6 separate regions of the Homo sapiens genome follow, and all the other regions are linked to region 2. Evidence: promoter capture Hi-C in 16 types of primary human blood cells and fetal thymus (Javierre and others, 2016). All regions are on one chromosome and are shown on one strand. Each heading gives the region's core, a stretch centred on a gene start or on the middle of the fragment in contact. The rest is flanking DNA. Distances are from core to core; before and after follow the strand shown. Region 1 holds the start of PLEKHM3 (pleckstrin homology domain containing M3). Region 2 holds the start of INO80D (INO80 complex subunit D). Region 3 overlaps METTL21A (methyltransferase 21A, HSPA lysine). Region 4 has its middle 14 kb from the start of CCNYL1. Region 5 overlaps CREB1 (cAMP responsive element binding protein 1). Region 6 has its middle 20 kb from the start of CREB1.

The links. The method cuts DNA at HindIII sites, captures the fragments that hold promoters and counts their contacts. A CHiCAGO score of 5 or more calls a contact.
Region 1: a contact is called between a fragment that was not itself captured here and the fragment with the promoter of INO80D in region 2, in 2 of 17 cell types (total CD8 T cells and total CD4 T cells). The highest score is 8.8, in total CD8 T cells.
Region 3: a fragment that was not itself captured here is called in contact with the fragment with the promoter of INO80D in region 2 in 1 of 17 cell types (neutrophils); the score reaches 5.2 in neutrophils.
Region 4: a contact is called between a fragment that was not itself captured here and the fragment with the promoter of INO80D in region 2, in 2 of 17 cell types (neutrophils and monocytes). The highest score is 6.6, in neutrophils.
Region 5: a fragment that was not itself captured here is called in contact with the fragment with the promoter of INO80D in region 2 in 1 of 17 cell types (neutrophils); the score reaches 7.3 in neutrophils.
Region 6: a contact is called between a fragment that was not itself captured here and the fragment with the promoter of INO80D in region 2, in 1 of 17 cell types (naive B cells). The highest score is 5.5, in naive B cells.

What each region holds. Positions count from the first base shown.
Region 1 is chr2:208,025,186-208,029,341 of GRCh38, reverse strand. PLEKHM3 (pleckstrin homology domain containing M3) reads left to right here and starts at 3,815. Exons shown (of 8, transcript NM_001080475.3): 1 at 3,815-3,953. The HindIII fragment of the contact is 609 bases long and covers 2,201-2,809 here.
Region 2 is chr2:206,083,016-206,087,555 of GRCh38, reverse strand. INO80D (INO80 complex subunit D) reads left to right here and starts at 1,382. Exons shown (of 11, transcript NM_017759.5): 1 at 1,382-1,655. INO80D-AS1 (INO80D antisense RNA 1) reads right to left here and starts at 2,901. Exons shown (of 2, transcript NR_186084.1): 1 at 2,808-2,901; 2 at 52-1,599. RefSeq lists enhancers at 1,126-1,235, 1,246-1,295, 800-1,619, 1,346-1,635, 3,264-4,085 and silencers at 1,686-1,895, 1,976-2,145, 2,166-2,365, 2,406-2,455, 2,357-2,651. The HindIII fragment of the contact is 4,007 bases long and covers 290-4,296 here.
Region 3 is chr2:207,615,071-207,619,379 of GRCh38, reverse strand. All of the region lies in intron 3 of METTL21A (methyltransferase 21A, HSPA lysine), which reads left to right. Among named protein-coding and RNA genes, the nearest start is that of METTL21A, 8.2 kb to the left of the region's middle. The HindIII fragment of the contact is 4,645 bases long and covers 149-4,309 here.
Region 4 is chr2:207,695,088-207,699,478 of GRCh38, reverse strand. No RefSeq gene overlaps it. Among named protein-coding and RNA genes, the nearest start is that of CCNYL1, 14 kb to the left of the region's middle. The HindIII fragment of the contact is 5,275 bases long and covers 1-4,391 here.
Region 5 is chr2:207,541,293-207,546,145 of GRCh38, reverse strand. All of the region lies in intron 1 of CREB1 (cAMP responsive element binding protein 1), which reads right to left. Among named protein-coding and RNA genes, the nearest start is that of CREB1, 14 kb to the right of the region's middle. The HindIII fragment of the contact is 2,882 bases long and covers 68-2,949 here.
Region 6 is chr2:207,507,868-207,512,072 of GRCh38, reverse strand. No RefSeq gene overlaps it. Among named protein-coding and RNA genes, the nearest start is that of CREB1, 20 kb to the left of the region's middle. The HindIII fragment of the contact is 1,140 bases long and covers 1,781-2,920 here.

The sequences.
Region 1 (4,156 bases), core at 1,256-3,755, 1.9 Mb before region 2:
GATGGAGACCATCCTGGCCAACATAGTGAAACCCCGTCTCTACTAAAAATACAAAAATTAGCTGGGTGTGGTGGCAAATGCTTGTAGTCCCAGCTACTCAGGAGGCTGAGGCAGGAGAATCACTTGAACCCAGGAGGCGGAGGTTGCAGTGAGCCGAGATTGCGCCACTGTACTCCAGCCTGGGCAACAGAGCCAGACTCCATCTCAAAAAAAGAAAAAAAAGGCAAAAGAAGATGATGGAGCTGCTTTTAGCAGACAACCTTTTGAATGGAGATATGAACTTAAATATTTTACATTTAGAGAGGCAAAATGTTCCTAGCTGACATACAGAGGCCTAGCTGACATATAGAGCTCCTAGCTGACATACAGAGGTCCATGAGCCAGTGGCTGCCTAGCTGAGATTATTCTCAGCCCTAAATCTTTCAGCCTTTTTCTGGGATCATCCCCTTAATTCTGGTGCTGAGGATCTGTATTAGTGAGAGTGAATAAAATCAGTCATTTTGCAAACACAGCTTTTTTTGTTTTTTTTTTTTTTTTGAGATGGAGTCTTGCTCTATCTCCCAGGCTGGAGTGCAGTGGCATGATCTCAGCTCACTGCAGCCTCCGCCTCCCAGGTTCAAGTGATTCTCTGCCTCAGCCTCCGAGTAGCTGGGATTACAGATGTGTGCCATGACACCCGGCTAATTTTTGTATTTTTTAGTAGAGACAGAGTTTTGTCATGTTGGCCAGGCTGGTCTTGAACTCCTGTCCTCAAGGGATCCGCCTGCCTTGGCCTCCCAAAGTGCTGGAATTTCAGGCGTAAGCCACTGTGCCAGGCCAAAAGCAGTTTTTTAAATGCATTTTATGTCCCAGACTTCATGCTTAATCCATGAAAAACAATGACAAATCACAAACTCCTGACATCAGACTTCAAGACTAGTCTGAAAGAGTTTTTCTCAAAGGATGGTCCATGGATCACCAACTTGGGAAGCACTGAGGACCTTGTAGAAATTATGGAATTCAGGACCCTAATGTAGGTAGATCTTCAGAATAAAAATCTGTGAATGTGTGATCCAGGAATCTGCGGGGGTTTTTTTGTTTTTTGTTTTTGTTTTTGTTTTTTTTTTTGAGATGGAGTCTCACTCTGTCGCCCAGGCTGGAGTGCAATGGCATGATCTCGGCTCACTGCAACCTTTGCCTCCTGGGTTCAAGCAATTCTCCTGCCTCAGCCTCCCAAGTAGCTTGGACTACAGGCACCAGCCACCACATCCGGGTAATTTTTTGTATTTTTCGTAGAGACAGTGTTTCGCCATGTTGGCCAGGCTGGTCTCAAACTCCTGACCTCAGGTGATCCGGCCGCCTCAGCCTCCCAAAGTACTGGGATTACAGGCATGAGCCACCACACCCGGCCTAGGAATCTGCATTTTTAACAGCATTCAAGAACCTTGACACTCAAAATGCAGCATCACTTAGGAGATCATGACTGTTGGAGAGGCCCCATCCCAGACTTACTGTATCAGATTCTGCATTTTGACAGAATTCTTACCCGTTAAAGTTTGAGAAACACCATCCTAGAAGATTCTGTTCCATGTGAATTTTGAGAACCACCAATCCAATGGAAGACTGATCTGTGTAGCACAATGTAATGGGTACATTTATAAAGGAACACATGAGATCCTCTAGGAGTGCATAAAAGGAGCAGGTTCCCCTATCAGGCAAGGTTTCCAGAAGAGGTGTGATGTCATCTGCTTTTTTTTTTTTTTTGAGACAGCGTCTCGCTCTTTTGCACAGGCTGGAGTGCACTGGCTCAATATCAGCTCACTGCAACCTGCGTCTCCTGAGTCCAAACGATTCTAGTGCCTCAGCCTCCTAAGTAGCTGGGATTACAGGTCGTGTGCCACCATGCCTGGCTAATTTTCGTTTTAGTAGAGACAGGGTTTCACTATGTTGCCCAGGCTGGTCTCGAACTGCTGGCCTCAATCAATCCACCCGCCTCGACCTCCCAAAGTGCTGGGATTACAGGCGTGCACCGCCATGCTCTGCTAATTTTTGTATTTTTAGTAGAGATGAGGTTTTATCATGTTGGTCAGTCTGGTCTCGAACCGCTGGCCTCCAGCGATCCACCCGCCTTGGCCTCCCTAAGTGCGTGGATTACAGGCACGAGCTACCACACCCGGCCTTTTTTTTTTTTTTTTTTAGAGTGAAAGTTTATTAAAAAGCTTTAGAGTAGTAATGAAGGGAAGGAAAAGAAGAAAAGAACACTTGGAAGAAGACCAAGCAAGTGACTTGAGAGACCAAGCACCTGTTACCTGCTTCTTAAAGAGCAAAGAGAAATTAGCCAGCCTAAGTAAGAGGATGGGCCAGGAGTGAGAACTCTCATCAGAGGGAATCACATGTACAAAGTCCTGAGGCAAAAGAGAATACTGCAAATATTCTCTTTTGGTAATTAAAACAAAACAAAACAAAAAATGTACCTCTGGCCAGGTGAGGTGGCTCACACCTGTAATCCCAGCACTTTGGAAGGCAAGGAAGAAGGATTGCCTGAGGCCAGGAGTTCAGGATCATCCTGGGCAACACAGGGAGACCTTGCCTTTACAAAAAAAAAAAAAAGAGAAAGAAAGAAAAAAGAAGTTAGCCACGTTGTGGTGATGCGTGCCTGTAGTCCTAGCTACTCAGGAGGCTGAGTTGGGGGGATCCCTTGAACCCAGGAGTTCAGGGCTGCAGTGAGCTATGATCGTGCGACTGCACTCTGGCCGGGGCACAGAGTGAGATCCTGTCTCTAGCAAAACAGAAAAAAAAGTACCTCAAATTGCAGGGTTTAAAGAAAGCTTATTTAAACTTTGAATATCAACCAAAGGAAATTTTTTCTTAACTCAAAGCTTAAAGATTTGCTTATTAATCTTCTGGAGGGTGGGAAGGTGGGAAGAGGAATCAGAGTTTTAGATTTCTGTTTCATCCCTGACCCCTTTGACCTTTTTTTTTTTTTATCATTCCTTTGTTCATTCATTTATTCAGATATATATACATTGGGCCTGTGCTAGGTGCCTACTAGATGGTGGTGAGTGAAACTGAAATAGTGCCTGCCCTCAGGGAGTTTATAGGTGAGATGGGTGAGCGTGGGAAAACCAATAAAACTGATAAATAAGTGTGTACTTATAAAGTGAGAAAATGGCTAAGAAGTGTGCTATGATGGAAAACAGACAGGAAACTGCAAGGAAGGTCTGTCCAATCAGACCAGCATATCCCTGCAAAGCGACCACAGTCACTGCAGGTGGGATGTGGGCGGTCTTACCAGGCAGTCCTGCCCGCGTGCACACACACGCACACCCTATTTTGCTGGGAATCCGCAAGTGGGGGTGAAGACCTCACCTCAAAACCACCCCTTTTCAACCTGCGTAGGAAAGGACAGTGAAAACGGATTTTCACTGCAGCCCCAAAACCGGAAATGAGAAGCAATCTCCAGAATAGTCCCACTTTTGGAAAGAACTTATTTGAGTAATTAATTCCCTTAGACAAGGGAGCTGCTAAAAACCAGCCCGATCCTGACATGTTCTAAGTGACATTTTCCAATCGCAAACACCCATTTTGGCGTTGGGTGGAGCAGTGAGGAGACTCCACGACACACGCCATTGCTTTCACAATGTGTACAAGAGGAACTGTATATAAGAAAGCAAAGAAATAAGGAGGCCTGGCGGGTGCGGTCAGGCCTTGCCTAGCTGCCGGGTCCCTCGGGCAGGAAAGACTCGTCCTCGCGGCCTGGAACCTTGTGTGTCCGGCTCTGGCTGCCCGGGCCGCCGGCGGAAGCATTTCAGAGTGGGACCGCGAGAAGCCGCTTGTAAACAGAGCCGGGCCGGGATGGTCAGCGCCCGGGCGGGCTGTCACCGTGAGGCGGGCGGCAGGCTGCGGGAGTCAAGCCCCTCCAGGAGCGGACTGAAGGCCCCGCAGGTGAATGGAGAGTAGCAGCCGGGGCCCAGGTGAGCATCCGTCTGCTTCTGTGCTGCCTGGCCGGCCAGTTTGGGGGATGGGGTGGGGACGACTGCATTGTAAATATCCGAGCAGCTCCCAGGGATAGCAGTGATTTTGCTGTTTCTTGCATGCTCAGGTTTTTATTACGTGCTGGAGATTGTACCACACTGCAATGGCTAATGGGTGAGGGGAGATTACATGATGCATTGTC
Region 2 (4,540 bases), core at 133-2,632:
CTGATTCAGGGCACTAATATAACAAATTCATTCCTGCCAGGTTAGTCAACATGTGTTAGAAAAATAACTTTTAATACAAGATTTAAATCATCATCCCCAGTAGAACATACAAAGATAGTCGGTTCTTTTTCTATTATTTTTCTCTTTCTTCACAAAAATAGAAAAATGTCTCTGCAATTTATCCTCCAATAAGCGTTCTATTGGAATCGATGTAAATGGGTACCCTTTGTCCCTCTCACCTCTGTGCTAACAGCATTGTTTAACTCTGATCCCATTTATCTAGTAAGCTTTGCTCATTTAAAAAAGTAAATTCATGACATCCACTGCAATATACAAAAAGTCTATCATACAGGCTGGCAGCACATTGGAAGTTCTGAACTAACATAACTAACAAAAATAGCCACATTTCTCAATTCTGTGACACAAAAAGCAGATAGCAACATGTGTAATGCACCAAAGATCTAGCTAGAGTTTAAAGAATCTAAATAAATAAAAAAATTAAATGCCCGGATATAATTCTTAATAAGCTATTTTACCTCAAGAAAAATCTAAGGCTGTCTTTAAAATCTCTTTCCAGTTTTACTGTATCCTTTCTGTATGGGCAGCATAACAGAATTTCCAGAAACAGGGGCCGTTTTTAAATCCCCAGTGATAGCTGCCTTTATCTGCACTGTGGAAAATGACACACTGTATCATGCCTTTCTGGACAGTCCATAGGTTTTATTTACATTGCTTTGAGAAACAGACGAAAGACATGTTTTTTTACAATTGTCTTACAGCAATCTGTTCTGAGAGTAACATGTAACACAAATTTTTATATGCAATATATGAAAACATAAATATTTATATATACAATAACATAACCAGACAAATAAATGAAGTTACTATTAAGTCTCTTTAAGTATAAATTTACAAACTGACCACCAGCCACAGAACTTAGCCCTGTAATGGAGAAAAATTATTACTGGCTTAAAAAAATATTAAAATATCACTGTCACTAACATGAAAAAAATTAAAAACAGAAAATAAAAAACAATAACCACCGGAAAACCTGTGTCTTGTAAAGATTTCTTTCCATCAGAAGATGCAGAAACATTTTTCCCCCTGGAGCAAATGAAAACGTTTCTCATGCACCCCCCGTTTCTTCCCTGCTTTCTCCCCCAGGCGCGGGTGTAGACGGCCGGTGTGGACTTTTTTCCAGAGATGAGAAGTAAAAATTTGTACTTTATCGGGAGCGGGTGCACTTTTCCCCCTGGCCCCCCTTTGCTCTGCCTCCAAGATGGTAGGAAAGTTGTCGTTTCGGAGGGCAGAGGAGCAGCTCTCTGGTGTTATGTCCTCGCAGTGCCTGTAGTGGTGCTGTAGGAGGCTGCTGCCTCTTCTTGTACAGCCCCGGCAGCCCTGCCTTCTTGGCTGGAGAGTATATTCAGGGATTTCCCCTTAATAATCACCGACCCTGGGAGCACTTTTTAGTTTCCAAAATAAAAATATGATCCTCACCCCTCTTGCTTGACAGGGAAAGGCTCTCGCCGGAGCCCAGGGGGGAGCAGTAGCAGCGGCAGCCGAGCTTCCTAGTCCATTGCCAGCGCCTCTCACTCTGATCTGTCAGCCCAGCCGAGGGAACAGGGGGGAAGGAGAAAAAAAAAAGCAGCTGAAAGGTAAGCAGAGGCGGCCCCAGGCCCGGCCCACATCCCCGGGCTCCCGTAGGGCGGCGGGCTGGGCCGCGCAGGCTGGGCGGGCGGCGAGCGCGCTTACGTGAGGCCGGGGATTCGCCGGCCCACGCCAGGCCCCGGGCGGAGAATGAAAGGGTGAGTGGGGCCGGCGCCCGGGTGGTGGAGGCCGGGGGCCTGAGGGCCTCCGGGGCGCCCGCGGGCGGCGACGGCGGGCGGGCAGGGGTCCAGCCGGAGCCGGAGTGGGGCGAGCGGAGCGGCCTGCGCGGGCCAGGTGGGGGTGTGCGGCGGGAGGGGGGGGCGCCGGTAGGCCTCGGGCCGGTAGGCCCCACGGCAGCCGCGCCCTGCCCCCGCACCCCGGGCCTCCGCGCGCCCCCTCGAGTCCCCCGGGGTCTCCGGGTGGGACGGCGGCGCTGCTGGGCCGAATCCCGCGCCGGCCCGGAGGCTTTCCCGCGGGGCGGCAGGCCCGGGCTGCCGGGACAGGGGCGTCAGGGCCTAGGAGTGGGGAGTGGGGAATGGGCGCCCGGCTCCCCTTCCCCCGGGTCTCTCGCAGACGGCCCCCAGATTCCGGTAAGAGTTGAATTTATTTATCCCCCTCCTCCGCGCTCCGGACGGCCAGGCCGGGGCGGGGCGGGGCGGGCGGCCTGGCGGGCGTGGGGTCGGGTGGAGGGGCGGTGAGGAGTCAGGTGCAGCCGCGGCCCAGAAAGTTTCCTTTTAGGCCCGAACTGGGGGCCGCTGTCTCTCCGGGGAGCCCTGGTCCTAGCGCCCGGGACCCCCCAGGGCGTGGGGGAGCGCACTCGGCTATTTTGAAACTCTTTGCCAGTTCCTGTCCATTGAAGAAGGTACTCCGCCCCTGCACCCCTCGCCCGCGCCCCACCCAACTCCCCGCGAGCCCATTCGGGGCTGCTAACTCCAGCCCCTTCCCCCTAGAGCCCCCCAGGTTGGGGAGAGGGCCTTCTCTTCCGGTTTGGAAAAGTTTGCAAGGGGCTTTTCTTAGCTTTATTAGTTAGTGACTGGGTTTTTGGGGTGGGAAGGAGGAGGTAAACTCAGGTGGTGTTTCTGCCGGACAATCTTTCCCTATTGCCTTTTTTAGCCCTTACCCCACCAACTGGGGGTGTTATTTTCAGCTTGAGTACCCACCCCCTTTCATCCCGATTCCTTTGGGTCCAAAATCCCCCTTCTGGACAGCTCCGGCGGAGAGGAAGATGTAGGGAGCAGCGAGGAGACTGTCAGTGAGAGGGGCAGGATCAGGCAGGGTTTCTGGAGCAGTCCCCAGATGTAGGAGTTTCCCCTCCTTTTTGGTCACTGTCCGGTAAAACCAACACCGGAACAGATCCCAAGGGGGAGACGTGGTTGTCAGATGGCTTGGAAGCCTCCGGGATTGGGAGGAGGGAGAGGAAGTGGGCAGGGCAGCTCCCGAAACAAGGTCTACAGTTTAAGGATCAGTAGTTCATTTATTCTGATAATCACTGTTTAGTTTTATGTGACATTCTTGTATTCGACCTAGAAATAGAGTAATGGAGATTTTAAGGAAACCTAAACTTGTTATTGCTACAACTCAGAAGGGTCTGTGGAAGAGCCCTCGGAACCTAGCAAAACTACTTTGGTTTTGGGGTGTGTGTGTGTGTGTGTGTGTGTGTGTGTGTGTATGTATAACATTTAAACGAAAAAAAAATATATGTGTATGTATATATTTTATATGCATATATAAACACATATATATTCATACACACACACGTATGTTTTCTGTTTAAATGGATTCAATTTTAGCTATATTTTGGTGCCCTGAGCTCTGAACGTTAAAAAAAAAAAAAGTGATAAACATAAATTTCCAAATCTCGATTTTCTGCTTTTCAGGGACAGGATGTTTCCCGTGGCTATGCTTACCTCCTTGTTGTTCTTGAGTGTTGACATTGAAATGTTAATAGACCCTGCCACCCCCCACTGCCAGTCCCCAGTGTGGGCGTGTTTGGAGAGGTTATTTTGCATCGTTTAATTGTTGGTTTTTTCCTTTTTTTTTTTTTTTTTGGTGAGCTTAGGGCAGAGTGTTGTGTTTATGTGCGGTGTCCTGCTTGGTAGCAGGCTGGAGTTGCTGGCAGGAGATGTCCCACATTCTGCCCACTCAGTACCCCCAGCACTGTTGTTAGTGAAAAGCTACCACTTGCAGGGCAATGGGTCACCCACGACTTTCAGTGCTGACTTCCGTGAGGCTTCGAAATGAGACTCATGTGATTCTTCTAGGTGTGTGCCTTTCTTTTCCTTTCGTCTGCCTAAGATCAAACTCTGTTTCTCCACAATGATAGATATCCGGTCATTTAGCATTGAGCTTAAGAAAATCTTGATATTTGAGATTGTATGGATCTGATACAAAAATGCAAATTACATTTAATGGTTGTTTTAAGTTTATTGATTAATTGAAATTGTTTATTGACATGGACATTTTTTTAAACATGTGTACCAAAAATCGTTACTTCTATTATAGTTTGTCCTTATTTTTAGAGCATATACTGGATGGAAAAAAATCATTCTTAGTCATTTTTCTTGGAACATTTTAAGGTTTGAAAAAAATTGTTATTGCCTTATAATTTGATATTTTAAAGGTATATTGTTGACTTCACATTCCTAAGCTTTCCAAAACTATGTGTACAAATACCAAAAAAGTTTTGTACTTTTTCCCACCCTACCTCAAACATGTATTAATTTCCTAACCTGATCGCCTAATGGGCTACTTTATTTCCTGAAGGAATGACAGGTTTGATGTTTTTAAAAGTTACATTCCATTTGAAATTAATAAAAGATTTTCAGGGCAAATACTGAATTAACTTTAAACTACTAAGGGAATATGCTTTTTTATTATTAAGTGTTAGTTTAAA
Region 3 (4,309 bases), core at 1,222-3,721, 1.5 Mb before region 2:
GGAAGAGATTAATTATTATTCTTTTTAAAGTATATTCTCTTTTTGTAACCTTAGTCATTTATTCCTGAATTTGGGGAGAACCCACCAGAAGCCTGGCGGTCCACTGTGGATGGGGCAATAAACAGGCTGGCAGGTGTCTCCGGAAGCTTACGTTCTGAGTTTAGTGGGTAGAGGTAAAGAAAGAAGATTAAAAAAAAAAAAAAAAAGCGGTGCTATGTAGATATTAATATAGGGTGATGAGACTTTCCTGTTAAAAACCAGCTGCTAATTCCTGAGTAGTTCCTGTGTTCTGAGGACTGTGCATTACACCCTTTCATTCTCACAGTCACCCTGCATGGTAAGTAGGCCTTACCTACTTATAGCGCCCTTCCAGTGGTGAAAGGGAGGCTTCTTGGAGGGTAAGTAACTTGCCTGAGGTCACAAAGCTAATGGATTGTGCTTAGAATTTGAATCCAATCTGACTCTCAAATCCTCGTTCTTAGTTTGAAAATCTCCCTGGTCTTATGGTACTTGGAACTGTAGCAGTCCCCCCTCACCTGTGATCACTTTCCCTGGCTTCAGTTACCCACTGTCAGCCTTGGTCTGAAAACAGGTGACTAGAGTATGATAAGATATTTTTTAGAGAGAGAGAGAGACCACATTCACATACCTTTTGTTGTTGTTGTTGTTTTTGAGATGGAGTCTCACTCTGTCACCCAGGCTGGAGTGCAGTGGTGCGATCTCGGCTCACTTCAATCTCTGCCCCCGCCTCCGGGTTCTAGCGATTCTCCTGCCTCAGCCCATTGAGTAGCTGGGATTACAGGCACCTGCCTCTGCACCAGGCTAATTTTTTTTTGTATTTTTAATAGAGATGGGGTTTCACCATTTTGGCCAGGCTGGTCTTGAACTCCTGACCTTGTGATCCACCCATAACTTTTATTATGGTATATTGTTATAATTATCTTGTTTTATTATTTATTGTTTATCTCTTACTGTGTATAATGTAGAAATTAAACTTTACCATAGGTATATACATATTGGAAAAAGCATCTTATATACAGGGTTTGTTACTATCTGTGGTTTCAGGCATCCACTGGGGGTCTTGGAACATATCCCTTGCAGATAAGAGGGAACTGCTGTATCCATAGAATAAAAACACCCCATCTTGAAGATAGGAGGATTCTGTAAATTGGGATGGGGTCAGGGAATCTGAATTTTAAAAGTTTCCCATGTGATTTGATGCCCAGCCAAGGCTGGGGACCACTGTCTTGAAATATAATGCTGAGGAAGATACTGTCTTTGATTTTCCTGTAATTCGAGTGCAAATCTCAGCTGAACTTATGGCTTGTGTGTTTAACTGAAAGCTGGATATCTATACCTGGCTATTTCCCAGCACCTCAAATGGTATCTGTTTAAAGCCAAACTCTTTTCTTTCTAAACTTGTTCTTCCTCCTTTATTCTGAGTTGGCATCACCTTCTAAGTAGTCACCGCCCCCACCCAACTCCTTGACTCCCCGTCTACCTCCCCTACCCCTTGGAGTCCCACTGATTCCGTCTTTTAACTATTTCCTGGATCTGTCTCTCTCTGTCCACTCCCACTGCCTGGCTTGAGCTCTCATCATCTGTCACCTGCCTGCATGATCACATCACTCTTCCACCTGGCCTGTCTGCCTCTGTTTCGTCTTTTTAAACCTATTTTCTCAATAGCTGTCAGAGTGGCCCATCTGAAATGCAAAATTGATGGCATGACCTGTGCTTGAACACTTGTTTGCCTTCCCACTGCCTGCCTGCAGGCTAAATCCCAGGCGTCTTAGTAAGGCTTTGTTATCGCATCCTGCCTGACTCTTCAGCCTCACTTTTTCTCAGCAAGATTGGAGTGCATGAAGTTCCTGGGACACACATCCTGCTCTGGCCTGTCCCATCTGCCTTGGATGCCCTTTCTTCACACCTTTTCCTTGGTTCATGCCTCATCTTTTAAGCGTAAGCTCAGATTTCCCTTCCTTTGGGATTTTTTCTTTGACCTCTGCTCCTCTTGAAGAATTTCTCCTTTGTGACCTCATGATTTCCTGCGCACACTCATGTTTCTATTATTTTTCTTCCCACACTGCATCACAACTGTGTTTATGTGTCTCTCCCACATGAGACTTTTGAGCTGTGGGTAAGGACTTTCTTCCTCATCTTTGTATCTCTAGCACATAGTATGTGCTCGAATGTTTGCATAAATAAGGTGTTATAAAACTAAAACGAAAACTGATGACACATGTTTATACATTCTTTTCCCATTACTAATGGACAGCATACTGTGTTGTCCTATTGGGTCAGTCTCCACTAGTCTTTTCTGAACTAAATACTGTCTCACCCTCCTTACCCAGCATAAATCTCACAGGCAGTCATTTTATCACCATCTTCATGTACGGTTGACACCGACTCCCTGCCTTTCCTTGCTTCAAAACAAGCCAGGTTAACTGCAGCCTTCCACTGTCCCTGGTCTGTGCCTCTGTGGCTGAGTGGGGCTGAAGGAAATGCTGCTGCTGGATTTCACTCTATTTTTTCTTTTGAGATGGGAGTTTCGCTCTTGTCGCCCAGGCTGGAGTGCAGTAGGGCGATCTTCACTGCAACCTCTGCCTCCCGGGTTCAAGCGATTCTCCTGCCTCAGCCTCTTGAGTAGCTGGGATTACAGGCGCCTGCCACCACGCCTGGCTAATTTTTTGTAATTTTAGTAGAGACAGGGTTTCATCATGTTGGCCAGGCTGGTCTCGAACTCCTGACCTCAGGTGATCCACCCGCCTTGGCCTCCCAAAGTGCTGAGATTACAGGCGTGAGTCACCGCACCCAGCCGGATATTCTGTTTTTTTAAAAAACGTCTTACTGCCTATCTCTCACTTGAATGTAAGTTGTATGAGGGGAGAGGTTTCTGTTCCATGGCTGATGGTAGTCATTCAGATATGTGTGGAATTACAGGGGGTGGTCAACTGACATTAAGATCCTATTCAGACTTCTGGAATACCTACCAGGTTAGAAGTAGCCTTTGAAATGCCTGGGACAGGCATTAGAGAAGGCCTTTATCTATGAGCTGGTAAAATGAATACTGAGGTGATGTGCAGATGACTCAGTCACTCCAATATTGCCTGCAGAGTGCTCTGTGTACTGTTAAGAAATTCAGAGATACAGTTCTAACTCAAACCTTGGAAAAGGCTGTCTGCATTTTTTTTTTTTTAAAAGAGATAGGGTCTCGCTCTGTTGCCCAGGCTGGAGTGCAGTGGCATGACCATGGCTCATTGCTCACATGACAAAATACCAAAAATAGGGAAAGCCTGTATCGTGAGGTTAAAATTTTAAAAAAGAATAATAGGGCTGAGTACAGTAGCTCACGCCTGTAATCCCAGCACTTTGGGAGGCCAAGACGGGTGGATTGCTTGAGCCCAGGGGTTGGAGGCCAGCCTGGACAACATGGCAAAACCCTCTCTGTATGTTTGGGAAAAAAAAAACAATCATAGAAGAGAGACATTGGCTATTAAGAAATCCCAGTCCACCTCTCCTTAGGCTGTTATGAAGCAGCCAATCTATATGTGTTTATGTAATACATATATAATCACTGAAAAATTACTGAATTGTATGACAGTAATGTAAGTGAAAATACTTGTTCTTTAAGTGGTAAGTTAAAGTTGTTCTTTTCTTTTCTTTTCTTTTCTTTTTTTTTTTTTTTTAGACGGAGTCTCACTCTGTTGCCAGGCTGGAGTGCAGTGGTATGATCTCGGCTCACTGCAACCTCCACCTCCTAGGTTCAAGCAATTTTCCTGCCTCAGCCTCCTGAGTAGCTGGGACTACAGGCACGCGCCACCATGCCCAGCTAATTTTTGTAGTTTTAGTAGAGACGGGGTTTCACCATGTTGGCCAGGATAGTCTCGATCTCTTGACCTTATGATCCACCTGCCTCGGCCTCCCAAAGTGCTGGGATTACAGGCGTGAGCCACCACGCCTGGCCTAAAGTTGTTCTTTTAAGTGCAGCCTTGACCTCCTGGGCTCCAGTGATCCTCCCACCTCAGCCTCCTGAATAGTGCCACCACGCCTGGCTAATTTTTTTATTTTTTTGTGGAGATGGGATCTCTCTATGTTGTCAGGGCTGGTCTTGAACTTCTGGGCTCAAGTGATGCTCCTGCCTCGACCTCCCAAAGTGCTTGGATTACAGGTTGAGCTACTCGGCCTGGCTGTCTGCAATTTTTATTTTCAGAAAAGATGAAAACTGTCATTGAAATCTATCCATTGGGCAACACACTGTCTAGCAACGAATGGTCAAAGTGGTAGGTTCAGGCTTGTAAAATCTAACAAC
Region 4 (4,391 bases), core at 597-3,096, 1.6 Mb before region 2:
AAAGAAAAAAAAGAAAAGAAAAACTGAATGAATAAATATATTCGGTTAATAAGGGCACTATTTTATAAAGAATGGTTGGGGAGTCTTCTCCAATCAATAAGGGGCTGTTATAATCTGAATTTTGCCTCCCCCTCTACCCCCCAAAATTTACATGTTGAAGTCCTAACTCCCAGTACCTCAGAACGTGACCATATTTGGAGACAGGATTTTTCAGAGGTAATACAGTTAAAATGGTATCATTAGGGCAGTTCCTAATTCAGTAATGGTGTGTGGTGTCCCTATAAGAAGAGGAAGGTGGCTGGGTGCGGTGGCTCATGCCTGTAATCCCAACACTTTGGGAGGCCGAGGTGGGTGAATCACGAGGTCAGGAGATCGAGACCATCCTGGCTAACACGGTGAAACCTCGTCTCTATTAAAAGCACAAAAAATTAGCCGGGCGCAGTGGCGGGCGCTTGTAGTCCCAGCTACTCGGGAGGCTGAGGCAGGAGAATGGCATGAACCCAGGAGGTGGAGCTTGCAGTGAGCCGAGATCGTGCCACTGCGCTGTAGCCTGGGTGACAGAGTGAAACTCTGTCTCAAAGAAAAAAAAAAAAAGAAGAGGAAGTTTGTGCCAGGCTTGGTGGCTCATGCCTGTAATCCCAGCACTTTGGGAGGCCTAGGCGGGAGAATCACAAGGTCAGGAGTTTGAGACCAGCCTGGCCAACATGGTGAAAACCTGTCTCTGCTAAAAATACAAAAAATTAGCTGGGTGTGGTGGCAGGTGCATCTAATCCCAGCTACTTGGGAGGGTGAGGGAGGAGAATCGCTTGAACCCAGGAGGCACAGGTTGCAGTGAGCCGAGATCGCACCATTGCACTCCAGCCTGGGTGACAGTGCAAGACTCTCTCTCAAAAAAAAAAAAAAAGAAAAAAAGAAGAAGAAGAAGAGGAAGTTTGGACATAGTCATATGGAGGGAAGGCAGTGTGAAGACACAGGGAGGGAATGGTCATCTACAAGCCAAGGAGAGAGGCCCGGAACAGATCCCTTCCTCACGGCCCTCAGAAGAACCCAATCCTGCCAGCACCTTGATGGCAGACTTCTAGCTTCCAGAACTGTGAGAAAATAAATTTGTTTTTTAAGTCACCCATCTGTGGTACTCTGTTATGGCAGCCCAAGCAGACTAACAAGGGGCATAGAAAGCAGCCTGGATGAAGTGAGAGGGTACAAGCTCTATGGGTATCTGGGGAACAGCCCAAAAGTGGAGCCCTAGAGGAAAGCCAAGGGCCCAGGTGCCTGGAAGAGGGGTTGGAGGAGAATGGAAGATGTGGTTAGAAGAGGCAGCAAGGTACCACTAGGTCCTAAAGTGCCTGCAGGCTTTAGAAAGGACTTTAGAGTGTATTCTGGGGGAAATGGGAAGCCACTGGAGAGCCACTGAACCTGACGTATTTTATAGGGGCTCCTTGGCTCCTGCATGAAGCCCAGACTACGTATATCAAAAAGTTTGTAACCTTCATATTAATTATTTAGTAGCACAGTTTGAAGGTTTGGGGCAAGACAGAAAGAAGCGCTTCTAAGGCATTGACCCCAAGTCCAAATCCCTCTTTGTACCCCTGCTATCCCACTTGGCCATCCTACTTCCCAATCTGATAAACTGGATAAGCCATCATTTGAAACCAGCCTGATTTTTTCATGAGTCCTCTCTGCAGGGTGATTCAATGGGACCTCTCTTCCCCTCTTTAAAGTCAACTGGTTGCTCTTCCTTTCCCTTCCTACTTCTGTTCCCTGTCCCTGTGTTGCACACCAGGCTCCTCATCCTCAAGCCTTTCTGGCTCCCTGGTTAGCAACTGCCATCTGCCAGGATTCCAGCGCTCATTCACTCTCCCCTCCCCAACCCCAACTCCCACATTCCTGGCTTCCCCTTAGGGAATGCAGAAATGTAACCCTCCTCTGATATCTGCAAACAAAATTTCAGGGAAGTGGACAATTTTTGCCAGTCAGGTTTGGGAGAAAAGTCATGAGTGCTCTGCCCAGTTTGGAAATGTCCATCAACTCAGTGGTAATGGCTTTGTGGGAAATAACACAGCTCAGAGTTGGACCAAACTTTGACCAGCATGCTCCTCTTGGGAGACTTTGAGATAAGTCTCAAGACCCCTTTTATGATACTCAGGGGTCTTCTCTTACGGAAGGAGCCTGCATCAATAGCTTCCTTTAAGGATGTGTGATGGTTAATATTGAGTGTCAACTTGATTGGATTGGAGGATGCAAAGTATTGTTCCTGGGTGTGTCTGTGAGGGTGTTGCCAAAGGAGATTAACGTTTGAGTCAGTGGGCTGGGAGAGGCAGACAAACCCTCAATTTGTGTGGGCACCATCTAATCAGCTGCCAGCATAAAAGCAGGCACGGAAAGAGCAGACTGGCTGAGTCTTTTAGCTTCCATCTTTCTCCCGTGCTGGATGCTTCTTGCCTTTGAATATCAGACTCTGAGTCCTTCAGCTTTTGGACTCTTGGACTTACACCAGTGGTTTGCCAGGGGCTCTCGGGCTTTCGGCTACAGACTGAAGGCTGCATTATTGGCTTCCCTACTTTTGAGGTTTTGGGACTTGGAGTGGCTTCCTGGCTCCTCAGCTTGCAGACAGCCAATTATGGGACTTCACCTTGTGATCATGTGAGTCAATTCTCCTAATAAACTCCCCTTCACATATTCATTTATCCTATTAGTCGTGTCCCTTTAGAGAACCCTGACTAATACAGGGTGTATGTACTTTTTTTGCTTCCTTCTGCTCAAAGTCTCTCCACATCCTCCCCCAAACTGCCCACCCCAAGGCCAATCAACTCCATCTACATACACTTGTCCTTCCACTCCAGGCTGCTTTTGACAGTTATTCAACAAAAACAAGGGATCAAACTCAGGGCACGTGAATTGGAAAAAATAACAATAAAAAACAAAAAATGCCATTAGTAAGAGCCCAGGTTCTTGGGCCCATCTGCTCACTTGACCACAGAAGAAAGGTGACACTAAAAAGACAGGTAGGGGCTGGATGCGGTGACTCACACCTGTAATCCTAGCACTCATGCCCGTAATCCCAGCACTTCGGGAGGCCGAGGTGGGCGAATCATGAGGTCAGGAGATCGAGACCATCCTGGCCAACATGGTGAAACCCTGTCTCCACTAAAATATAAAAAATTAAGCCAGGCATGGTGGTGCGTGCCTGTAGTCCCAGCTACTCGGGAGGCTGAGGCAGGGGAATTGCTCGAACCTGGGAGGCAGAGGTTGCAGTGAGCCGAGATTGCACCACTGCACTCCAGCCTGGCGACAGAACAAGACTCTGTCTCAAAAAAAAAAGATAGGTAGGGCTGGGCACGGTGGCCCACACCTGTAATGCCAGCACTTGGAGAGGCTGAGGTGGAGGATAGCTTGAGCCCTGGAGGTCAAGGCTGCAGTAAGCAATTATCGTGCCACTGCACTCCAGCCTGGGCGATAGAGCAAGACTCTATCTAAAAAAAGAAATGATAGGCAGTGGTGCCTATCTAATTAAGCTGGACATTTCCAGGAGCAAACATCTTGAGACTGAAAAGGGGACATCAGGAGGCCACTAGCTCTGGGCCTCACTATCACCAAGGGCCTCAGTGCCACCAGGTCACACCCACAGTTAAATAGAAGCACTGGCAGGTTTGAAGAAAGAAGATGGCATCGACCAACTTCAGCTCTCTGTCTCATTACTGTCTCACCTCTCATGAACTATGAACCAATATTTTAAATAAACCCCCTAATAACCCCCCAGTCACTTTGGGAATATAATAATTACACTGAACTGAATGTGTGTGTGCATGTGGATGTTGGAATTGCTTACTTGTTAAATACTGATGTTTAAAATACACGACAAATCTTGTAACCCTATTTTGGCATATCTTTTTCTTCTTCTTTTTGGTTTTTGTTTAATATGGAAGTGGACAGTGCCTCTCTTGACCTCTGGAAGGCCCTATGAAAACCTGAAACCGAGGCAAGGTGACAAAGTCTGGTCATTCAGCACTAAGGGCCGCCTCAGATTACTTCTTTACTTAGAAAAACAAAATGTTGTTGCAAAAGATTCAGAGTCACAAATATTCTTCCCGGGCCTGTCAGTTTCTGAATTCTTAGATTTTTCATTTAATTTAGCCATCAGGGAATTTCTGAGACTAGAAATACCTAGGCAGAACCCAAACAAAATCTCGAGCACGAGCCCATATCTTCAAGGTTGGTGAGAATCAGATATGTGTCTGGGCTAAAGTGAGCGAGGGAACTGATTTTTACCCCATGCAGTCACCTCAGGATCAGATAGAAGGTGAATGAGAGGTTGCACGTGTCTCGATGTGTATCTTACCAGATCCTCATGCTTATTTTCTTGAGCAATCCTAAATACCTTGTTTAGAATG
Region 5 (4,853 bases), core at 259-2,758, 1.5 Mb before region 2:
GAAGTACTGTCATAGTAAAGTATCAGAGTTAATAAAAACTCAAAGTAGAAAATCTTCCTTTTAAGCTTTGGACAATGAATCTAATTTCCTCAGTTAAAGAAAAATATGTTTGGCCAGGTGCGGTGGCTCATGCCTGTAATCCCAAGACTTTGGGAGGCCAAGGCGGGCAGATCACCTGAGGTCGGGAGTTCAAGACCAGCCTGGCCAACATGGAGAAACCTTGTCTCTACTAAAAAAATACAAAATTAGCCAGGCGTGGTGGCGCACGCCTGTAATCCCAGCTACTCGGGAGGCTGAGGCAGGAGAATCGCTTGAACCTAGGAGGCAGAGGTTGCAGTGAGCCGAGATTGCGCCATTGCACTCTAGCCTGGGCAGAAAGAGCGAAACTCCATCTCACAAAAAAAAAAAAAAAAAGTTCACTTCCTTTAATCTGTACAACTCTAAAGAGAAATTGTTCTTAACCTTTACCTTTCAAATTTATGACCCTTTAATAGAGAATCACTCATTAAACAAATATTCTGCGCCTACTACGTAGTAACGACTACAGCATTTTCAGCAGAACTGAAAATTACTACATAGTAGTAGTCCCATACTATGGGACTATAGCATAAAACATATAAGAACCTTTCTCTGGAATTAGGCCAGGCGGAGTGGCTCACGTCTGTAATCCCAGCACTTTGGGAGGCCAAGGCGGGTGGATCACTTGAGGTGAGAAGTTCGTGACCAGCTGGCCAACATAGTGAAACCTCATCTCTACTAAAAATACAAAAATTAGCCGGGCATGGTGGCACATGACTGGAGTCCCAGCTACTCAGGAGGCTGAGGCAGGAGAATCACTTGAACCCAGGAGACAGAGGTTGCAGTGAGCCGAGATCATGCCACTGCACTCCAGTCTGGGCAACAGAGTGAGACTGTCTCGAACAAAACAAAACAAAAATAAAAGAACCTTTCTCTGGAATGCTTCTACATTGTTGGTGGTGTTAGTTCAACCATTGTGGAAGACAGTGTGGCAATACCTCAAAAACCTAGAGGCAGAAATACCATTTGACCCAGCAATCCCCTTACTGGATATATACCCAAAGGAATATAAATCATTCTATTATAACAATACATGCACGCATATGTTAACTGCAGCACTATTCACAATAGCGAAGACATGCAATCAACCTAAATGCCCATCAATGACAGACTAAAGAAAATGTGGTACATACACACCATGAAATACTATGCAGCCATAAAGAACAAGATCATGTCCTTTGCATGAACATAGATGGAGCTGGAGGCCTTTATCCTCAGCAAACTAATACAGGAACAGAAAACCAAATACCGCATGTTCTCATTTGTAAGTGGGAGGTACATGATGAGAACACATGGACACATCGGTGGTTGGGGGGACAACACACACTGGGGCCTGTCAGAGGGTTGGGGGTGGGAGGAGGAAGAGCATCAGGAAGAACAGCTGGTGAATGCTGGGCTTAATACCTGGGTGATGGGATGATGTGTGCAGCAAACCACCATGGCACACGATTACCTATGTAACAAACCTGCACATCCTGCACATGTACCCCTGAACTTAAAAGGTGGAAATAAAAAAGAACCTTTCTCTCAAGAGCTTACAGAAACTAATGAGAGATAAAATATGTACTATATATGAAAGAGCTTGACAGGTATAAATTATTATAACTAGTTTAACTATAAATTCCTTCCAAACAAGTACTTAACATCAGTAATTTAAAACCATAAACTTCTATTTGGAAATGGTAGGAATACAATGAACTGTGGAAAAAAAGAAAGAATAGCTGCCTATTTATGGTAATCTGATGCAGATCTGATTAAGAACATAATGAAATCAATGTATTTTTTCATGATCTTGGCTAGAATATTTACCCTAAGTGAGCTACTTACAAGCCTAAACTAATATTGCTTAAAAAGAAAAATTTTGGCCGGGCAGTGGCTCACGCCTGTAATCCCAGCACTTTGGGAGGCCAAGGCGGGCAGATCATGAGGTCAGAAGATCGAGACCACAGTGAAACTCTGTCTCTACTAAAAATACAAAAAATTAGCCAGGCGTGGTGGCGGGCCCCTGTAGTCCCAGCTACTCAGGAGGCTGAAGCAGGAGAATGGCATGAACCCAGGAGGCAGAGCTTGCAGTGAGCTGAGATGGTGCCACTGCACTCCAGCCTGCACAACACAGCGAGACCTCGTCTCAAAAAACAAACAAACAAACAAAAAAACAAATTTTGGCTGGGCGCCGTGGCTCACGCCTGTAATCCCCAGCACTCTGGGAGGCTGAGGTGGGCAGATCACAAGGTCAAGAAATCGATACCATCCTGACCAACATGGTGAAACCCTGTCTCTACTAAAAATACAAAAAAATTAGCTGGGTGTGGTGGCATGCACCTGTAGTCCCAGTTACTCGGTAGGCTGAGGCAGGAGAATCACTTGAACCCAGGAGGCAGAGGCTGCAGTGAGCCAAGATAGCACCACTGCACTTCAGCCTGGTGACAGACTCCATCTCAAAAATAAATAAATAAATAAATAAATAAAATTAATAACCATTAATAAAACAGAAACCCTGAAAACTTTACAAAGAGATAATGCAGTACTACAAGAGTGATGAAGACTACGCCTTACTTACTGTGAGTTTCTACACACATCACTTAAATTCTCCACGACTCAGCTTATTTGTAAAAAATGAAGGAATGACTACTCACTCCCCCTTCATAGGTAAATGTTTGTAACTGTGAATTTCCCAAATATGGTAGAGTTTATAAGTTATAAACTACCATCGCAGTCATTATAATAAATTCTCTCATAATAAATAACAAATTCTTGGATCATAGTTACAACTGGGCCTCTGTATCCAAAGATTCAGCATCTGTGGATTCAACCAACTGCAGATCAAAGATATTTGGGGGAAAAAAATCCCCAAGTCCCAGAAGTAAAGCTTGAATTTGCTGCATGCTGACTCCTATGCTGAACCCATAAGAGTCAAGTGATGGGCAGGCACTGTATAAGGTATTATAAGTAATCTAGAGATGATTTAAAGTATATGGGAGGATATTTGTCGATTACATGCAAATACTATACCACTTTATATAAGGGACTCAAGCATCCGTGGATTTGGTACCTGAAGGGGTCCTGGAACCAATTCCCCATCGATACCAAGGGACAACTGTGCTTCAAATTAAAATGTTTCACTCAAAATTATTTCTCGATTTTCATCTTTGCTTCTTTCATCTGTCACTACAAACTGAAGGATATGGACACAGAATAAAGGGAAGGCCTGAGGTAGGTGGATTATAACTCCAAATACACATTAGTAGCTTCAGTTATTTTTCATTAAATAATGGTATCTTGTTTGCCTGGGCCTTCACAGAGATCAGAGATATTTTTTAAATGTTTATAATAAACAAGAATTTATGATATACACAATATAACACCAAAACACAAACAAGAAAAGAAAAATTAGATGAACCGGAAATCATAAAAATTAAAAACTTTTGTGCTTCAAGAGACACCATCAAGAAAGTGAAGACAACCCACAGGAGAAAATTTTTGTAAATCATGTATCTGACAAGAGATTTGTATCTAGAATAATAAACAACTATTACAACAAAAAGCCAACCGAATTTTAAAATGTGCAAAAGATCTGAACAGAAATTTTCCCAAAGAAGATATACAAATGGCCAAATCAGCACATGAAAAGCAGCTTGATATCATTAGTCGTGAGGGAAATACAAATCAAAACCAAACTGAGCTACCTCTTTGCACTCAGTAGAATGGCTATAATTGAAATAAACAAAAAAACAAAAACAAAAACCCAAAACCCCAAAAAACAGATGATAACAAGTGTTAGTGAAGATGGGGGAAAATTTGAACCCTAATACACTGCTGGTGGTGCAGCAGATTGGAAAACAGCCCGGCAGTTCCTTAAATGGTTAAACACAGTTACCATAAAATTCCATTCCTGAGTATATACTCAGAGAAATGAAGGCAAGTCAACATAAATGAATGTTTATGGCAGCATTTTCATAATAATCAAAAAGTCCAATGTCCGTGAACTCACAAATAAAATGTTCTATATCCATAAAATGGACTATTATGGCAATAAAAATGAATACTGATACATACTACAACATGAATAAACCTTGAAAACATTATGCTAAAGGCAGCTCATCACAATGGACATTATGCTATATGATTCCACTTATACACAATGTCCCAGAATAAGCAAACCTATAGAGACACAAAGGTGATAGGTGGTTGCCTAGGGCTGCAGGTATGGGGAGATTAAGAGGTGATGGCTGAGAGGAGATGTGTAGATTTCTTTTAGGGATAATGAAAATGTCCTAAACTGATGGTGGTAATAGATGCACAACTTTGTGAATATACTGAAAACCACTGAACTGTACACACCAAATGGGTGTATTGTAGAGTATGTGAATTATATTTCAATAAAGCTGTTTAAAAAAGAATCTATGATGTCCAATTTTTAACTGTAATACATATACAGTCATGTGTCACTTGATGGTAATATGTTCTGAGAAATGCATCATTAGTTAATTAGGTTAGAAAACAAAACCTAGATGGTATAGCCTACTATGTACCAAGGCTACATAGTATAGGCTACAAACCCATACAGCATGGTATTGTACTGAACACTGTGGGGAAATGTAACACAACGGTAAGTATTTGTTATCGAAACATATCCAAACATAGAAAAGGTACAGTAAAAATAAAAGATATAAAATATAAAAGATAAAAAATGGTACATCTGTACAGGGTGCTTATCACAAACGGAGCTTGCAGGACTAGAAGTTGGTCTGGGTGAATCAGTGTGAGAAATGTGA
Region 6 (4,205 bases), core at 1,101-3,600, 1.4 Mb before region 2:
CTGTGCTCCCTTCCATCCCATTCCCTGTAATCCACTCCACGGTTTCTTTTTCCCATAGCACTTATCAGTATAACATACTACAACATTTATTTATGTATTGTAGTTTATTATCTATCTTTCCTTAGAAGGGTAGGCATCTTTGATTTGTTCAGTAATGATTCCTAAGTGCCTAGAACCATGTCTCATTGGCATTCATTCAATACTTGTTGAGTTGTACTGAATTGTGATAAATCCTATGAGCAATGTCAGCACAAGGTGCTATGGGAGTATATAGAAATGACCCCACACAGATCAGGTTAAGAAAGACTGTGAAGGAGTTGAGGCCTCCCCTGAACTTTACTTTTTTGGAGATGAAGTCTTGCTATGTTGCCCAGGCTGGGGTACAGTGTCTGTTCACATGTGTGATCATAGCATACAACAGCCTTGAACTCCTGGCCTCAAGCAATCCTCCCCACCTTAGCCTCCCAAGTAGGTGAGACTACAGGCGCACCTCAGCTCTCAGCAGAACTTTTTTTTTTTTTTTTGAGTTGGAGTCTCGCTCTGTCGCCCAGGCTGGAATGCAGTCGTGCGATCTCGGCTCTCTGCAAGCTCTGCCTCCTGGGGTCACGCCATTCTCCTGCCTCAGCCTCCTGAGTAACTGGGACTACAGATGCCTGCCACCATGCCCGGCTAATTTTTTGTATTTTTAGTAGAGACGGGGTTTCACTGTGTTAGCCAGGATGGTCTCCATCTCCTGACCTCGTGATCTGCCTGCCTCAGCCTCCCAAAGTGCTGGGATTACAGGTGTGAGCCACCGCACCCAGCCTCTCTGCAGAACTTTTAAAGATAAATAGAGTGAGGCAGATGAAGGAACCACGAGAAGCAATGAAATCATAGATGCAAAGTGCTCCATTGGTGTCTTAGTCGGCTTGAACTGTTATGACAAAATACCATAGACTGGGTGGTTTAAATGACAAACATTTATTTCTCATAGTTCTGGAAGCTGGGAAGTCCAAGATCAAGGCATCTCTCTCTGTGGGTGAACACCCACTTCCTGGCTTGCAGATGGCCATCTTCTCATCTTCTTGTCATGTCCTCACATGGTGAAGAGAGACCTAGAGACATCTCTGGGATCTCTTATAAGAGCACTAACCCATTCATGAAAGCTCTACCCTCCTGATTTAATCACCTCCCAAAGCCCCACCTCCTAATATCATCATATTGTGGATGAGGATTTCAATATATGAATTTTGTGAGATCACAAACATTTGGTCCATTGCACTTGGGTATTGTTTCAGGTGGCTATTTGGATTGAATATTACCAATTGATTCCAATTCAGAGTATAGAAATCAAACCTCATGGGTAATGCACTTTGTAGAATACTTCTTCAGCAAAGCTTATATCTGCCTGAATTGTACCATGTTATCATAGTGAGCACTCATAACATTTCATGGTCAAATTGCATTGGCCGGGAGTTTCAGTCTGAACAGCCAAGGTGCCAAATCTTTGTTTTGGTCAACAGGGTAGCCAATAATAAAAACACTAAGCCAAAATCATAGTTAAGGTTTACAGTGAATATCTTTGGAAAGTAATGCAATGACTTAGAGATTTTTCTCATTTGAGATGTTCTTTTACCAGGGATATATTCGGAGATAGAGCCTTCACTATAAGTACAAGACACAAACCCACTCTTAAATCAGCTTTGTAACATATGATGTATGATTTATGTGTTCTTAACACTTTGTGCCATCTGGTGGCTTCATATTTAAGTAATTTTTCTTGATAATTAGATATCAAGCTTAGTTGTTTCTACCTGTTAGAGAAATATATGTGTTGTCAACATGTAAATATAACACATTTCAGAACAGAAAATTCTTGAAAATGTTTGCTTGTGCCCTTTAAATTTTAGTGGGCTGATACAAAGCCTCCTTGCTCTCCCAATTTTAACTCTGCTCATAGAATTGCCTAAACTCAGTCCCTTACTGGCACACAATAAGCAATACACATTATGTTAAATAATTGAATCAAATAGATTTTGATCCAGAAGAAACATATAGCATAAGCCTAAAGGACTTTAGGGAACATAACTTAATGTACATTTTGGATTTGTAAAATAGGGCTCATCATAGTTATCTATCTCAGTCTCTATGAGAATTAATACAGGCAATATGAGTTGATATATGTAACAGTCTTTGGCACACGTCTTTTATTAATAGACTTTATTTTTAAGGAAAGTTTTTTTTTTCTTTTTTTTGAGATGGAGTCTCACTCTGTCATCCCGGCTGGAGCAGTGGCAAGATCTCAGCTCACTGCAATCTCCACCTCCCAGGTTCAAGTGATTCTCCTGCCTTAGCCTCCTGAGTAGCTGGGATTATAGGCACCTGCCACCACGCCTGGCTAATTTTTGTATTTTTAGTAGAGACAGGCTTTCACCATGTTGCCCAGGCTGGTCTTGAACTCCTGACCTCCAGTGATCCACCCACCCTGGCCTCCCAAAGTGCTGGGATTACAGGTGTGAGCCACCGCACCCAGCCCTAAGGAAAGTTTTGGACTTGCAGAAAAAGCAAGCAGATAATATAGAGAGTTCCCATGTAACCTCCCCACCCCACCCTACCCAAAGTTTCCTCTATTGCTGACATCTGACATTAGTATGGTACATTTGTTATAATTAATGAAGCAATATTGATAGAGTATTGTTTTGAACTAAAGTCCATAGTTTATTGAGAGTTTCTTAGTTTTTGCCTAGTGTCCTTTTCTGTTCCAGAATCCATCCCAGGATACTGTGTTATATTTAGTTGTCATGTCTCCTTAGGCTCCCTTGGCTGTGTCAGTTTCTCAGACTTTCCTATTTCTGATGACCTTGACAGTTTGAGGAGGACTGGTCAGGTATATTGTAGGTTGCTCCTGTATTGGAATTTGTCTTTGGCACATTTTAAAGCTTCTAAAAGTGTTTGTTACTGATATTATTGCTTCATATTCAGATTAAATGTGGAACAAAGCTAGGATATGGGCAGGGGATAGTTTTGTTGAAAATTTAGTATTTAAAAGATTTATTTTGAAGCATAGTCAATTTATCAGTGCCAAAAACGGACAAAATTTGGTTTGCCTACATCCATCCTTCCATCTTCCATTCAGTAAATATTGTGAGGATAGTGTGTATTAGATGCTGGGGATTCAATAATAAAGAAAATGTAACTGCTTTCATAGAGCTTCCAGACCAATAGGAAGAGAGTCAAACAACTAAAGAAATAATCTGCAAGATAACTTGTGACAATAAAGAAAATATTCTTATATTAAAGAACATCTTAGTAGGTGAGGGGAAAGGGGACTAACTTTATTAAGATCATGCATTAGGATATTATAGAGATAGAAAACAGAATAACAGGCTTAAACAAGGTAGAAATTTTCTGTTCAGGAAATCAGGGAGTCAGTTCAGAGCTAATATGGCAGCTCCACAGTGCCAGGGTCCCATACCCCTTCCACTTTGTTGCTCTGCTGTGCGTGGATTAATTTCTCAGCATCATCTCTTGTCTAAGACTATTTCTGGGGATCCAGCTATCACATCTGAATTCCAGCCATCATGAAGCAGGAGGAGTCAGAGAAGATAACTCCCCTTTTCACATTTCTGTTTACTTTTTGCTGTTTTGACAGAACTTTTTATTTTACTTTTTGTTGTTTCTGTTTTGACAGAACTTAGTCAAGGGGCCTTATGCAGCCACCTTACCTAGTCTCTTTGTCCAGGTGGCCATGTTTACCAGCTAAACATCAGAGGTTTTATTGCTATACTGGTTCTCACGCTATGGCGTGCATCGGAATCACCGGCAAGACTTGTTGAAATACAGATGACTGGCCCTCATCCCCAGTTTTTCATTCAGTAGGAGAATAAGAATTTGCATTTCTGACAAGTATCTATGTGATGCTGATAATGCTGGTCCAGGACCACATTTTGAGACCCATTGCTGTAAAAAGGGAGCATGGCCAGATACAGTGGCTCACACCTGTAATCCCGGCACTTTGGGAGGCTGAGGTAGGAGGATGACTTGAGCCCAGGAGTTTGAGACCAGCCTAGGCAACATAGCAAGACCCCCATCTCTACAAATAATAATTTTAAAAAATTATCATGCGTCTGTGGTCCCAGCTACTCAGGAGGCTGAGGCAGGAAGATCACCTGAGCTCAGGAGGCTGAGGCTGCAGTAAGGCTTGATTGCACTGCCACACTCCAGTG